2 separate regions of the Homo sapiens genome follow, and region 1 is linked to region 2. The links are contacts of gene promoters, found by promoter capture Hi-C in human tissues and cell types (Jung and others, 2019). All regions are on one chromosome and are shown on one strand. The core of a region is centred on a gene start or on the middle of the fragment in contact, and the rest is flanking DNA. Distances in the headings are between cores, read along the strand shown.

Region 1 (5,840 bases), core at 1,333-3,832, 610 kb after region 2:
TCCTGCTCCTCCTCTTACCTAAATTCCACTGCCTGCCCAGGAGGTGATGGGCTAAGCTGGGTATTAAAACCATCTCAACTGTCATCCCCAAGTGACCCATCAGGGCTCAGAGAGGCAGACCCAGGCCTAGCACCCACTCTGTGCTTGTCCCCTCACCCTTGAACCCCCAGGTCCATACCCTGCTGGTGGCCAGATCACGCCCTTCCCAACCCCGGAGGAAGCCCCCTACCCCAAAAGGACCCTGCCATCCCTGCCTGGCTCTATTCCTGCAGCCCCAGGACTCCCACCTCAAGCTCCATCACCTGGCATGAGAGCTGATGTGGACTCAGGGCGCGCTCAGCAAGTGTTTGCTCAGTAAATTAATAATACGTGCTAATGGTCATATCTGTTATTTAACTGATGCAAAATTTGGGGTCAGAAGCATAGCCCCCAATTACAGCATCATTTCTATGAGAAATGACAGCTCTGTTACCACAGTCCTCTATGATGTGGCTTCCAGGAATCCATTAGAGCTAATTACTCCCTCAGCAGAATGTGACATTCCTAGACCACCACTTATCTCACATTTGGGAATGTGCAGCCAGGTTCACTGCGGAGGCGCTGGCTCCTCTCTGCTCTGCTGGGGATGAGATCTTGTGTGTTGCTTGTCTCTGCAGAAAGGCCAGCACCCCCATCCCCAGACCTGAGGCTGCTCACTCCTCAGGACTCCTGTTATTCCGAAGCTCATTCTAAAGAAAGAGCAAGATTGGTTTGGAAAAACAGTCTTCCAGGTGGAGTGCAGGGTTCCAGGGTAATGACGGGTACCTCTGGGTATCCTTCCTTTCTCTGCACAGATGCTGCCAGAGCTGTTCCTCAGAGAACTCAGGGGCTCTGGAGAGCAGGGTTTCTATGCAGCATCCTCCTGGGCACCCCTGCCCTCAGGCAGCCTCCTTTGGGCCCACCCTGTAGGAGCAGCAAGCCAGAGCACCTGGTTGTGGGGCTTGGAGCACATATCCTGCCTCTCTGTGCCTCAGTTTCTTCATCTGTAAAACAGGAGTGGGCAGATGTGAGAACAGACTGGCAGCTCGTGTCCAGCTGTGGTTACCAGCGTCATTGTCACTGCAGTCATTGGTGATGCTGTTGCTTCGTGCCTGAGTCATCACTACCAGCTGCAGTTACCACTTGCATTACCACGGTCACTGGTGATGTAGTCTAGTCAGAAAAGTTCCTTTTTTTTTTTTTTTTTTTGAGACAGAGTCTCGCTGCGTCGCCCAGACTGGAGTGCAGTGGCATGATCTCGGCTCACTGCAACCTCCACCTCCCGGGTTCAAGTGATTCTCCTGCCCCAGCCTCCCAAGGAGCTGGGATTACAGGTGTCTGCCACCATGCCCAGCTAATTTTGTTGTTGTTGTTTTATTTTTAGTAGAGATGAAGTTTCACTGTGTTGGCCAGGCTGGTCTTGAACTCCTGACCTTGTGATCCACCTGCCTCAGCCTCCTAAAGTGCTGGGATTACAGGTGTGAGCCACGGCGCCTGGCCAGAAAAGTTCTTAAATCCAAAGCATCAGATCTAAGCCAGATTGGTTCCAGATTTTTGATATTTTGCTCATTGAGTTTATCTTAGAAGCAGGGGTAGCTTTTGCCAGCAGCAAATTCCAGGTAGTTACTCCTTTTAGAAGTTAGAATTTATTCATTTTGCAGGGAAGTGGTGAACTGGGGAGTCAGACAAGAGCATCATGCTTCTTAAAAGCCCAGACCCCTGGCTATAACACATCGAAGATTCTCAGAAGAGAATTGAGGAGCGGACAGGCGCCACACTCCGTTGTGGTCACTGCCTCTTCCTGGCCCACCACACTCCTGTCCTCTGCATGTACTGAGAGCTCTGTCCAGGATGCCAGGGTCCTGCCTCGGCAGAGAGGCGGTGCCAGATGCCCCACAGCAGCTGGTGGGAGTGCCCACAGCTGGAGGGCAGGGGAGGAGCCTGGCCTCTGGCTGGTGTTTCCTTCCCAGCTCTCAAGAACTGGAGACTTTGGTTACAGAAGTGAAGGCTGCTCCCTCACAGACTTCCTAGTGTCCGATGGTACCACATGGAAGGATCAGAGTTTTGAAGGACTGGGCCAGAACCCAGATAGGGCACAAGGCTGCCAGCGCCTGCATTGAGGGAGCTATGATGTGACGGGGGCTCCTGCAGAAGATGGCCTTCCTTGTACAGGTGTGGGGCAGCCTGTGGATGGGCAGTGGGAAGATGGGGGGTCCTCGGAGCTGGAGGTGCCCAGCGGTTTAGGAGGCTGTGCTTGGCACATCTGTAGCCCCAAAGCTATATGTTGAGATCACTGGCACCCAGAGGAGAGACCCAAAAGGGGCAAGAGAACATCTTCCAAGCACTTGCCACTGGCAAGGAGGGTGCTGCCGGCTATTTCCGTGGGAGGTGGGTGAAGACATTTAACCTGGGCTTCCCCAGCAGAAGGAGGTGCCATTGCAGGGACCAGTCTTGGGCTGAGACCCTAGCAAAGGCTTCCTCTGGCAGGGCTGCAGGTCTAGGGTCTGTCTCTGCCTGCTGCGGGCCTGATTAACGCCAGTACTTTCCTTTCCCCAGAGTCGGATGGCAGAGAGCTTGCGCCTCTTTGACTCCATCTGCAACAACAACTGGTTCATCAACACCTCACTCATCCTCTTCCTGAACAAGAAGGACCTGCTGGCAGAGAAGATCCGCCGCATCCCGCTCACCATCTGCTTTCCCGAGTACAAGGGCCAGAACACGTACGAGGAGGCCGCTGTCTACATCCAGCGGCAGTTTGAAGACCTGAACCGCAACAAGGAGACCAAGGAGATCTACTCCCACTTCACCTGCGCCACCGACACCAGTAACATCCAGTTTGTCTTCGACGCGGTGACAGACGTCATCATACAGAACAATCTCAAGTACATTGGCCTTTGCTGAGGAGCTGGGCCCGGGGCCCGCCTGCCTATGGTGAAACCCACGGGGTGTCATGCCCCAACGCGTGCTAGAGAGGCCCAATCCAGGGGCAGAAAACAGGGGGCCTAAAGAATGTCCCCCACCCCTTGGCCTCTGCCTCCTTGGCCCCACATTTCTGCAAACATAAATATTTACGGATAGATTGCTAGGTAGATAGACACACACACATGCACACACACACATCTGGAGATGGCAAAATCCTCTAAAATGTCGAGGTCTCTTGAAGACTTGAGAAGCTGTCACAAGGTCACTACAAGCCCAACCTGCCCCTTCACTTTGCCTTCCTGAGTTGGCCCCACTCCACTTGGGGGTCTGCATTGGATTGTTAGGGATAGGCAGCAGGGCTGAGGCAAGGTAGGCCAACTGCACCCCTGTCGCCTGGAGGAGGGCCAGCTCGCTGCCCGAGCTCTGGCCTAGGGACCTTGCCGCTGACCAAGAGGGAGGACCAGTGCAGGGTCTGTGCACCTTCCCTGCTGGCCTGCACACAGCTGCTCAGCACCACTTTCATTCTGGACCTGGGACCTTAGGAGCCGGGTGACAGCACTAACCAGACCTCCAGCCACTCACAGCTCTTTTTAAAAAACAGCTTCAAAATATGCAGCAAAAACCAATACAACAAAACGAGTGGCACGATTTATTTCAAACTAGGCCAGCTGGGATTCCAGCTTTTCTTCTACTAGTCTGATGTTTTATAAATCAAAACCTGGTTTTCCTTCTCTGACATTTTTTTTTTGTTTTGTTTTTTGGTTTTTTTTTTTTTTTGGCCAAATCTCGTGGTGTTTCGCAGAAAAAAATCCAGAAAATTTCAAATGCAGTTGAGTATTCTTTTTTAAATGCAGATTTTCAAAACATATTTTTTTTCAGGTGGTCTTTTTTGTGTCTGGCTTGCTGAGTGTAAAAGTTGTTATCTGGACGATCTGTCTCTCTGCTCCAAAGAAATTTTGGAGTGAGTGGCAGTCCTGCGCCAGCCTCGCGGGACACGTGTTGTACATAAGCCTCTGCAGTGTCCTCTTGTTAATGGTGGGGTTTTCTGCTTTGTTTTTATTTAAGAAAATAAACACGACATATTTAAAGAAGGTTCTTTCACCTGGGAGCAAATGAACAATAGCTAAGTGTCTTGGTATTTAAAGAGTAAATTATTTGTGGCTTTGCTGAGTGAAGGAAGGGGAGCAAGGGGTGGTGCCCCTGGTCCCAGCATGCCCCGCGCCTGAGACTGGCTGGAAATGCTCTGACTCCTGTGAAGGCACAGCCAGCGTTGTGGCCTGAGGGAGGCCCTGCTGGGACCCTGATCTGGGCCTTCCTGTCCCAGGGCCTATGGGCAACTGCGTTGAAAGGACGTTCGCCAAGGGCCGTGTGTAAATACGAACTGCGCCATGGAGAGGAGAGGCACTGCCGGAGCCCTTGCCAGATCTCCCTCCCTCTCTCCGTGCAGTAGCTGTGTGTCCGAGGTCAGTGTGCGGAATCACAGCCAAGGACGTGAAGAGATGTACGGGGGAAAGAGAAGCTGGGGATTGGATGAAAGTCAAAGGTTGTCTACTTTAAGAAAATAAAATACCCTGAATGGAGCCCAGCATTGTCCCAGTGTGCTATGTGTGTAGCTGACCTGTGGCTGGACTTGGTGCCATCTGGAAGGGCAGCCGGGGACACCTCCATTCTGAGGTCCCATATTCCAAACCCCACCCCTATACCTCCACACATTTAGGTAGAGTCATTTTGCAATGAACATCACAAATAAACATCACGAGAGGAAAGAAACTGCAAAGAGGGGAAACCTGCCAGGTCCATGCAGTCCTGGTGTGGAGGTCTGGGGGTGATGATGACTCCTGCCCCTCCCGCTGCCCCCAAGACCCCACCCAACACTGACCCAGGCTGTGCCATACCCTGGACCCCTCCCACCATGTGGACACCTCAGCCAATGTCAGAGTCATCCTGCAGAGTGGAAGAGGTGCCCTGAGGGCCTGGAGGGTTCCTGTGCCCCCAGTAGTGTAGGGCAAACCTTGTAGGGTTTTGGAGAGGAGGGGTCCCTGAGCATGCAGTGCTCGCTGACTGGCTTGTGTGGTTAGAGGTATCTGGATATAGTGGAAAAGTGCCGATCAGAAGTCAACGGAGTGCATTCACCGAGGGCCTGCTGCGAACCAGGCACGGAGCCGGGCTCCTTACTAATGATTTTATGTAACACCCCACCTCAGCAGGTTGCCAGAGGTGCCCATTTTACAGATGAGGAAAGGTGCCTGAGGTCAGGGAGCAGTCAAGCCAGGATTCACCAGGCCAGGGAGCTGTTGCTCCCACTGGAGGAGCAGAGACGCTGATCTTTCCTCCTGCTGGAGTCCTTGCCTGGCTTGGCACCTGCACAGGATGGAAGCCTACAGGGAGCAGCACAGAACCACCCTGCAGCCTCCTCCTCAAAGCAGGACCTCAAGCAAAGTGGGGGGTCGGCAGGCACACACACGCATGCATGCACACAAGCACATGCACACACGCGCAGATACGCACGCAGCCCTGGTGCTGTCACCGCCCCATCCCTACTCCTAAGCCCACGCAGGGACTCCCTTCACACCTTCCTACGTCACCAAACAGCCAGAACCCAGAGGGGCTTTTGTTTCTGAAGAAATAACGTGTGACTTAAAATCGTTGAGACTTATTTTGTGCTTTTAATGCCAACTGTGAAAAGAGCAGTAATTTCGCCGTGAGCATCTTTAATCTAAAAATACATGGCTAAAGGGAGAAAGGGATTGAGCCTCCCTTCCTAATGTGTGCAAAGATCAGAGGAGGCCTTCCCTGGAGGGAGGTTTCTCCCGGTTCCCAGAACCTAGCCAGGAGTCTCCAGTTCCCCCATAGGCTGCAGAGAAACCTCAGGCGCTGTCGACCTCTCTGGCCCCGTCCTC
Region 2 (6,148 bases), core at 2,021-4,520:
AGGAGAATTGCTTGAACCCAGAAGACAGAGGCTGCGGTGTGCTGAGATCATGCCACTGCACTCCAGCCTGGGTGGCAGAGCAAGACTCCATCTCAAAAAAATAAATAAAAATAAAAATAAAATAATAATAATACAAAAATTAGCTGGGTGTGGTGGCGGGCACCTGTAATCCCAGCTACTTGGGAGGCTGAGGAGGAGAATCACTTGAACCCAGGAAGCAGAGGTTGCAGTGAGCCGAGACTGCGCCATTGCACTCCAGCCTGGGTGACAGAGCGAAACTCCATCTCAAAAAATAAGTACATAAATAGACAAAAAATAAAAACAAATTCTTCAGATTTTACCCTGAGTGTGATGAGAGATTACTGGAAGGCTCTGAGTGAGAAGTAATATGATCTCACTCATTTCATTAGGATTGCTGTGGCTACTGTGTGGAGAATAGACTTTAGAGAGTAATAGTGGAAGCAGAAGACAAGAAGCTACTGAAATATTATGAACAAAAGATGATGGTAGTATCAGACAGGATGGAGAAATAGAGATACTAAGAAGTCGGACTCTAGATAAAAATCTAGAAGGCCCACAAGGTTCATTGATGGATTGGGTTTGGGATGTGAAGGAGAGGAGGAGGACACACAAGAGGTAATGCTGAGCAGGTAAATCTATGAGATCAGAGCCCAAGGAAAGTTCCGAGGTAGGTACTTAAATTTTGAAGTCTTCAGTATGTAGCATTATTTAAAACACAAGACTGGATGAGATCACTCAGGGAAAAGAGGTCTGAGATCTAAGCTCTGGAGCATTCCATTGATTAGAGGTCATGGAGATGAGAAGGAGCTGGTAAAGGAAATTAAAAAAAAAACAATTATTCACAGCCATTCAGGTGGGAGGAGAATTGAGAAAGAGAAGCATCCCAGAATCCAATGGGGAGGAGAAAAGGAACTGTAATATATGCTGCCAATAGATCAAATAAAATCACGAAAATCAACTAAAACTGACCAATGGATTAAGCAAAGTGGAATTCATTGGTGACCTTGACAGCAGTGGGTTTAAGGAAGAACGAGAACAGGAGATAGCAAATACGGACAACTCTGGAGAAATTTTCCTGTAAGGACAAGCAAATACAAATTAAAACAAGCAGATGGGAGATGTGGCATCAAAAACGAGATCTTTAAGGTGAGGTGATGGTACAATCAGTATGTTTGCTATATTAATGATCTGGAGAGATAGAAAACTTAACCCTAGACAAAGAGAAGTCTTGCTAGAATAATATCCTTAAATAAACAAGTGCACATGTAGAGGTTCTGGCCTTAGCAAGAAGTCAAATTATTCACCCAGAGTAACAGGACAATGCTTTGAGATCCTATGGAAAAGGGTTAAATGGTGGATAAATGGTTGCGGTGGCCATCCTCCAAGATGGCCCTAAATGAATCCCACTTCCTGGAATTCACATAGTTGTAGCCCTCTCCCACTAACAGGGTTGGCCTGTGGGATCAAGCACATACAGCAGGAAGTGATGGTATGCCACTTCAGAAATTAGGTCATAAAGACTCTGCCCTTCATCTTGGGTACAAGGTCTCTTGAATCATTTGCTCTGAAGTAAGCCAGCTGCTGTGACATGAACAGCCCCATGGAGAGGCCCACAGAGCAAGGAACTGAGGCCTCTTGCCAACAGCCCAGTGAGTGAGCTTAGAGGCAGATGATCCAAACCAAGTCAATTCCGCAGAGACTGACAATCCAGCCAAGGGTTTCACTGAAACCTCATGAGTGACCTTGAGCCAGAAACAGCCAGCTAAGCCACTCTTGGATTCCAGACCTTCAAAAACTATGAGGTAATAAATTTTTTTTTAAACTACTAAGTTTTGAGACAATTTGTTACACGGCAATAGATAACTAATACAATGGGTCTCACTGAGCTGTAATCACAAATTGCTGGGCACACAATTCACTATAATCTCACCTACTGGCATGCAATGACTTCAGATGACCTCCCCTGTCCTGCTGCATGCAGTTACCTCATGAAATACAGTCGCTGAGAAAGAGGGTAGGATAAAAGGAGTCAGCTTTATATAACTTAACATCCCTGATGCTCTTTTTTTTTTTTTCAAGAGATGTGGTAAAAGAATGCCACTACCACCCTCTCCTTTCTCAACAAAGCAATTTAGAGGGTTCCCGAATGACCTACATCAACAATTGGCCTGAACTAATCAAACACATCATTCAGATTCCCTCAGTAAAATATTGAATACCAAACAGCTATGTTTCAGCAAAGGAAAGGGCAGGGGAGCGAAACTGAAGGACGAAAATACAACTTTGGTCCTCATCAGGGAGACTTCTCTTTTCTTACCTCAGGTTTATTACAACGCAACTTTTAAGAACTTGAGCTATTCCAGGCAGAAGGTCACATCCTTGAGGTAACCAGAGAGAAGCATTAGTTACTTACATGTCACAAGAATATTTTCGATCCCACTGCCTGACATTGCCATTTAGGTGTTTATCAATCATCTCACACTTAACCAGATAAGTGAACTGAACTCCTTTCCCCCAGATCTGTTCCTCCAATCTACCCTACCTTAGCAAAGGAAAACGTCCCACCCGCCAACTGCCCAAATCAAAAGCCTGCAAATCACCCGAGGTCCTGGCTCTCACGGGAGGGACTCCATTAGGGTCCCAGGGGCTGCATTAAGAGTCCCGACAGCGACGCAGTAAATGAGACAAGACGCTGCGGTAGGGGAGAGAGACCCATACATTCAAATGCCTTAAGGGGTCTGGGCCTACAGGTCTCCAGAACTGGGGAGGGCCTGGGGTTACAAAGCAGTTTTCAGATTTTTAAATACATTGAGCGCCAAAAGAGACCCCGCGGGGGCGATGGGGGAGGGGAGCGCACTGGGAGCCAGGAAAGGCCCCTTCTCCAGGAGGCCCGGGCCCAGCCCGGGGGTGGGGGCGTCTGCGTGAGGGAGTGGAGGCTGATGTAAAAGTGGCGCCCGCTGAGATTAGGGAAGGGGGTGTGCGTGAGGGGATCGTGGGACCTGCTTCTGCCCTGCACTCCCCCACAGAAAGCGGCTGTATTGCAAAGGCCGCTCCGGCAGCGCACGGCCAAGCGCGGTGTCGCGACCCGCAGGGCTGCGGCTCGCCATGAAATCCCTCAAGTCTCCCCTCAGGGAACGCTGAAGCCGCGCCACGCCCCCGTCCTTACCAGTCCGGATCAGCTGCTGTTCGCGAGCTGCCGGCCACGCACCAGCCCCGGAGGCGCTCCCGGGGCACAGCCGGCGGCGACTACGCCTCCTCAGGCCCCCGGCGCCGCCGACGCGCACGCCTCCACACGCGCGCGTCCAGTGGAGACCTGCGATTGGCTGCCAGGTGCCGGCGCGAGATCGGCGCGGCTCCGAGCTAGGAGCATGCGCGCGCTCTGACGCCCCTGGTGGCGACGGCTGGACGCGGGGTTAAATTGAGAAGGAGGAGGGCAGCAGCAATACCCCTGAGGCCTTGAAAGGATCTTGGGTTCCGGATCACGGTTCCAGGCAGTCAGGGTTCCAGAGCTGAGGGGGTATCCAAGCAGTCAGGGTTCCAGAGCTGAGGAGCATCCAGGCAGTCAGGGTTCCAGAGCTGAGGGGCACCCAGGCAGTCAGGGTTCCAGAGCTGTCGCAGCCAGGGCTTGGGGTGGGGGGTAGGCTTCCAGTCCATCAGGGGATGGTTTGCCCACCAGAAGGCCAGCTGTTATAATTCTCAGGTGTGGTCCCTTTGTTGACTATCCATGCTTAAGGGATTGTGAGGAAACAACTGAACCTAACATCTGTCCTCTTCTAGTTACATCTGGGGCCAGTTGAATCCAGCCTGCCACCTGTTTTTGTACAGCTGGCAGCAAGCTAAGAACCGATTTCACGTTTTTTTAATGGCTAAAAAGAGAATATTTTGTGGCATGTGAAAATTATATGAAATTCAAAATTCAGTGTCCATAAATAAAGTTTTATTGGAACAACAAACATGCCCATTCCTTTCGGTATTATTTATGCCTGTTTTCCTGCTTCAACAGCAAAGTTGATTAATTGCCAGAGACCATGTATGAAAAGCTTAAAATATTTACTGTCTGGCCCTTTACAGAAAGTTTGCCCACTCAGTTTACTTGCAGCTTTGATTTTTTTTTTGAATTGACCAATTCTGCCAAAAGTCTATTTTAGCAATCTTTTTGGGGGGCGGGTAAATCGCTTTTGGTTTAATTAATCTATAATGTTATTTTCTTATCTATTTTATCTATTTCTTCCATTCTGTTATTTTCTTCCTTCGTGACTTCATAGGCTTGTTCTGTTACTTCTCATTACAACTTTTGGAGAAAAATGCCTACCTCGTTTGCTTGTAAACTTTTTTGTTTCTCTTGTATTTAATGCTATAAATTTACCTTTAAGTACCAGTTTAACTGTGTCTCACCAGTCCGCTTGGTAATATGTTCATTATCCTTCAATTAGATATGTCCTAATTTTGCTAGTTGTTAGAAATGCTTGTTCCCTGGTGCCGCAAAGAAATAGCACTTGAACATAAATTTAATTTTCTCAGCAAGGCCATTTTCACTTTCTGCAGAAAGGGTACACTCGCCAGCAGTTTTGCCACGAGAGTACCCCAAACAAAGGATACAGGGTTATTTATAACCTGACGCATCCACCCTACTGCTGTGTCCGGTTTCCATTGGCTGGAACAGGACCTCACATTCTGTGTTTGTCCCGATTGGCTAACAACTTAGAACTTTCTAAAAGAGGCAAAGGCAGAGGAGAACAAAGGAAGGAGGATGTAACTTGTAGAATGCTGAGAAAGGTAAAAACACCTCCAAATAGGAAGAGGAACAGGCTATGACCTAATGCTTGCTTGGACCAGTATAAGCATGCAAGGGCAAATATTTAGGCTAAATTGTGGGAGCTAAGAACACAAAGTATATTAATTTCTTTATTACGGCTAGCAGATATCTAAGAATGTTAGCACAGGTCTTTGAATAAATTTTACTTCTAAGAGAAGTTACTATTTATTCGTAATTAGACAGGGAGGAAAGTCTTTGAAGAGGAACCTCTATTTTTTACATAGTGATTCTTTCTAACACAAGGGTTATATAGTATATGTTATTTATTTTTGAAATCTATGAGATTTTTAAAAGATTTTTTAATTGTATTATAATCAAATCACATGGCCTAAATATTACTCACCCTTGCATTTGAAGATTTCTGTTCAGTGAAGTGTACCATAGTCAAAATGAAGAGATCATAGATGTAAAGAAGATATTTGCAGTATCTAAAATGTATATATGAGGCTGATATGTAAAGATATTTGCATTATCTAAAATGTATATATGAGGCTGATATGTAAAGAAGATATTTGCAATATCTAAAATGTACGTAAGAGGCCTGGCACGGTGGCTCACACCTGTAATCCCAGCATTTTTGGAGACCAAGGCAGGCAGATCACTTGAGGTCAGGAGTTCAAGACCAGCCTGGCCAACATGGTGAAACCCCATTTTTGTACAAAAAATACAAAAATTAGCTGGGTGTGGTGGCACGCGCCTGTAGTCCTAGCTACTCGGGAGGCTGAGGCATGAGAACTGTTTGAACCTGGGAGGCAGAGGTTGCAGTGAGCTGAGATTGCACCACTGTACTCCAGCCTTGGGCAACAGAGCGAGACTCCGTCTCAAAAAATAATAACATGAAAAATAAATCTATGAGAAATGATCTTCTTTTGGCTTCATAATAATTCCAATGTCCATCAGTAAATTAGTATCAACTAAGCTCCAGGCTTTATTCAAATGTCACTAGTTTTTCCCATCATCCTTTTTGTTCCAGATTCCCACCCAGGATACTGAATTGTACTTGGTCATTTTGTGTTCTTAGCCTTCTGTGGTCTGTGACAGTTTCTTAAACTTTTCTTGCTTTTCATGACCTTGACAATTTTAAGAAGTAAAGGTCAGGTATTTTTCAGAGTGTCTCTCAATTTAGGTTTGATGTTTTTCTCATGGTTACACTGGGGTTATGGTTTTTAGAAGACTATCACAGACATGATGTGTCTTTCTCATAATTTCTCATCAGCGATCCATGCTATCAATAAGACTTCCTACTGGCTTCTCCGCTGTAAATTACTTCCCCCCCCTTTCATACCTTATTCTAAATCTTGCCTACATGCA

Evidence for each region. Contacts are between HindIII fragments. The study calls those that stand out against the background at their distance.
Region 1: a fragment that was not itself captured here is called in contact with the fragment with the promoter of ZNF280B in region 2 in 2 of the 25 tissues and cell types used here (dorsolateral prefrontal cortex and mesenchymal stem cells).

What each region holds. Positions count from the first base shown.
Region 1 is chr22:23,120,513-23,126,352 of GRCh38, forward strand. All of the region lies in intron 4 of RSPH14 (radial spoke head 14 homolog), which reads right to left. It overlaps GNAZ (G protein subunit alpha z), which reads left to right. Exons shown (of 3, transcript NM_002073.4): 3 at 2,575-4,520. The coding sequence ends at 2,919. Among named protein-coding and RNA genes, the nearest start is that of RSPH14, 19 kb to the right of the region's middle. RefSeq lists enhancers at 1,500-2,001, 5,652-5,840. The HindIII fragment of the contact is 8,271 bases long and covers 1-5,840 here.
Region 2 is chr22:22,505,472-22,511,619 of GRCh38, forward strand. ZNF280B (zinc finger protein 280B) reads right to left here and starts at 3,271. Exons shown (of 4, transcript NM_080764.4): 1 at 3,188-3,271; 2 at 2,339-2,399. It also overlaps IGL. The HindIII fragment of the contact is 18,670 bases long and covers 1-5,653 here.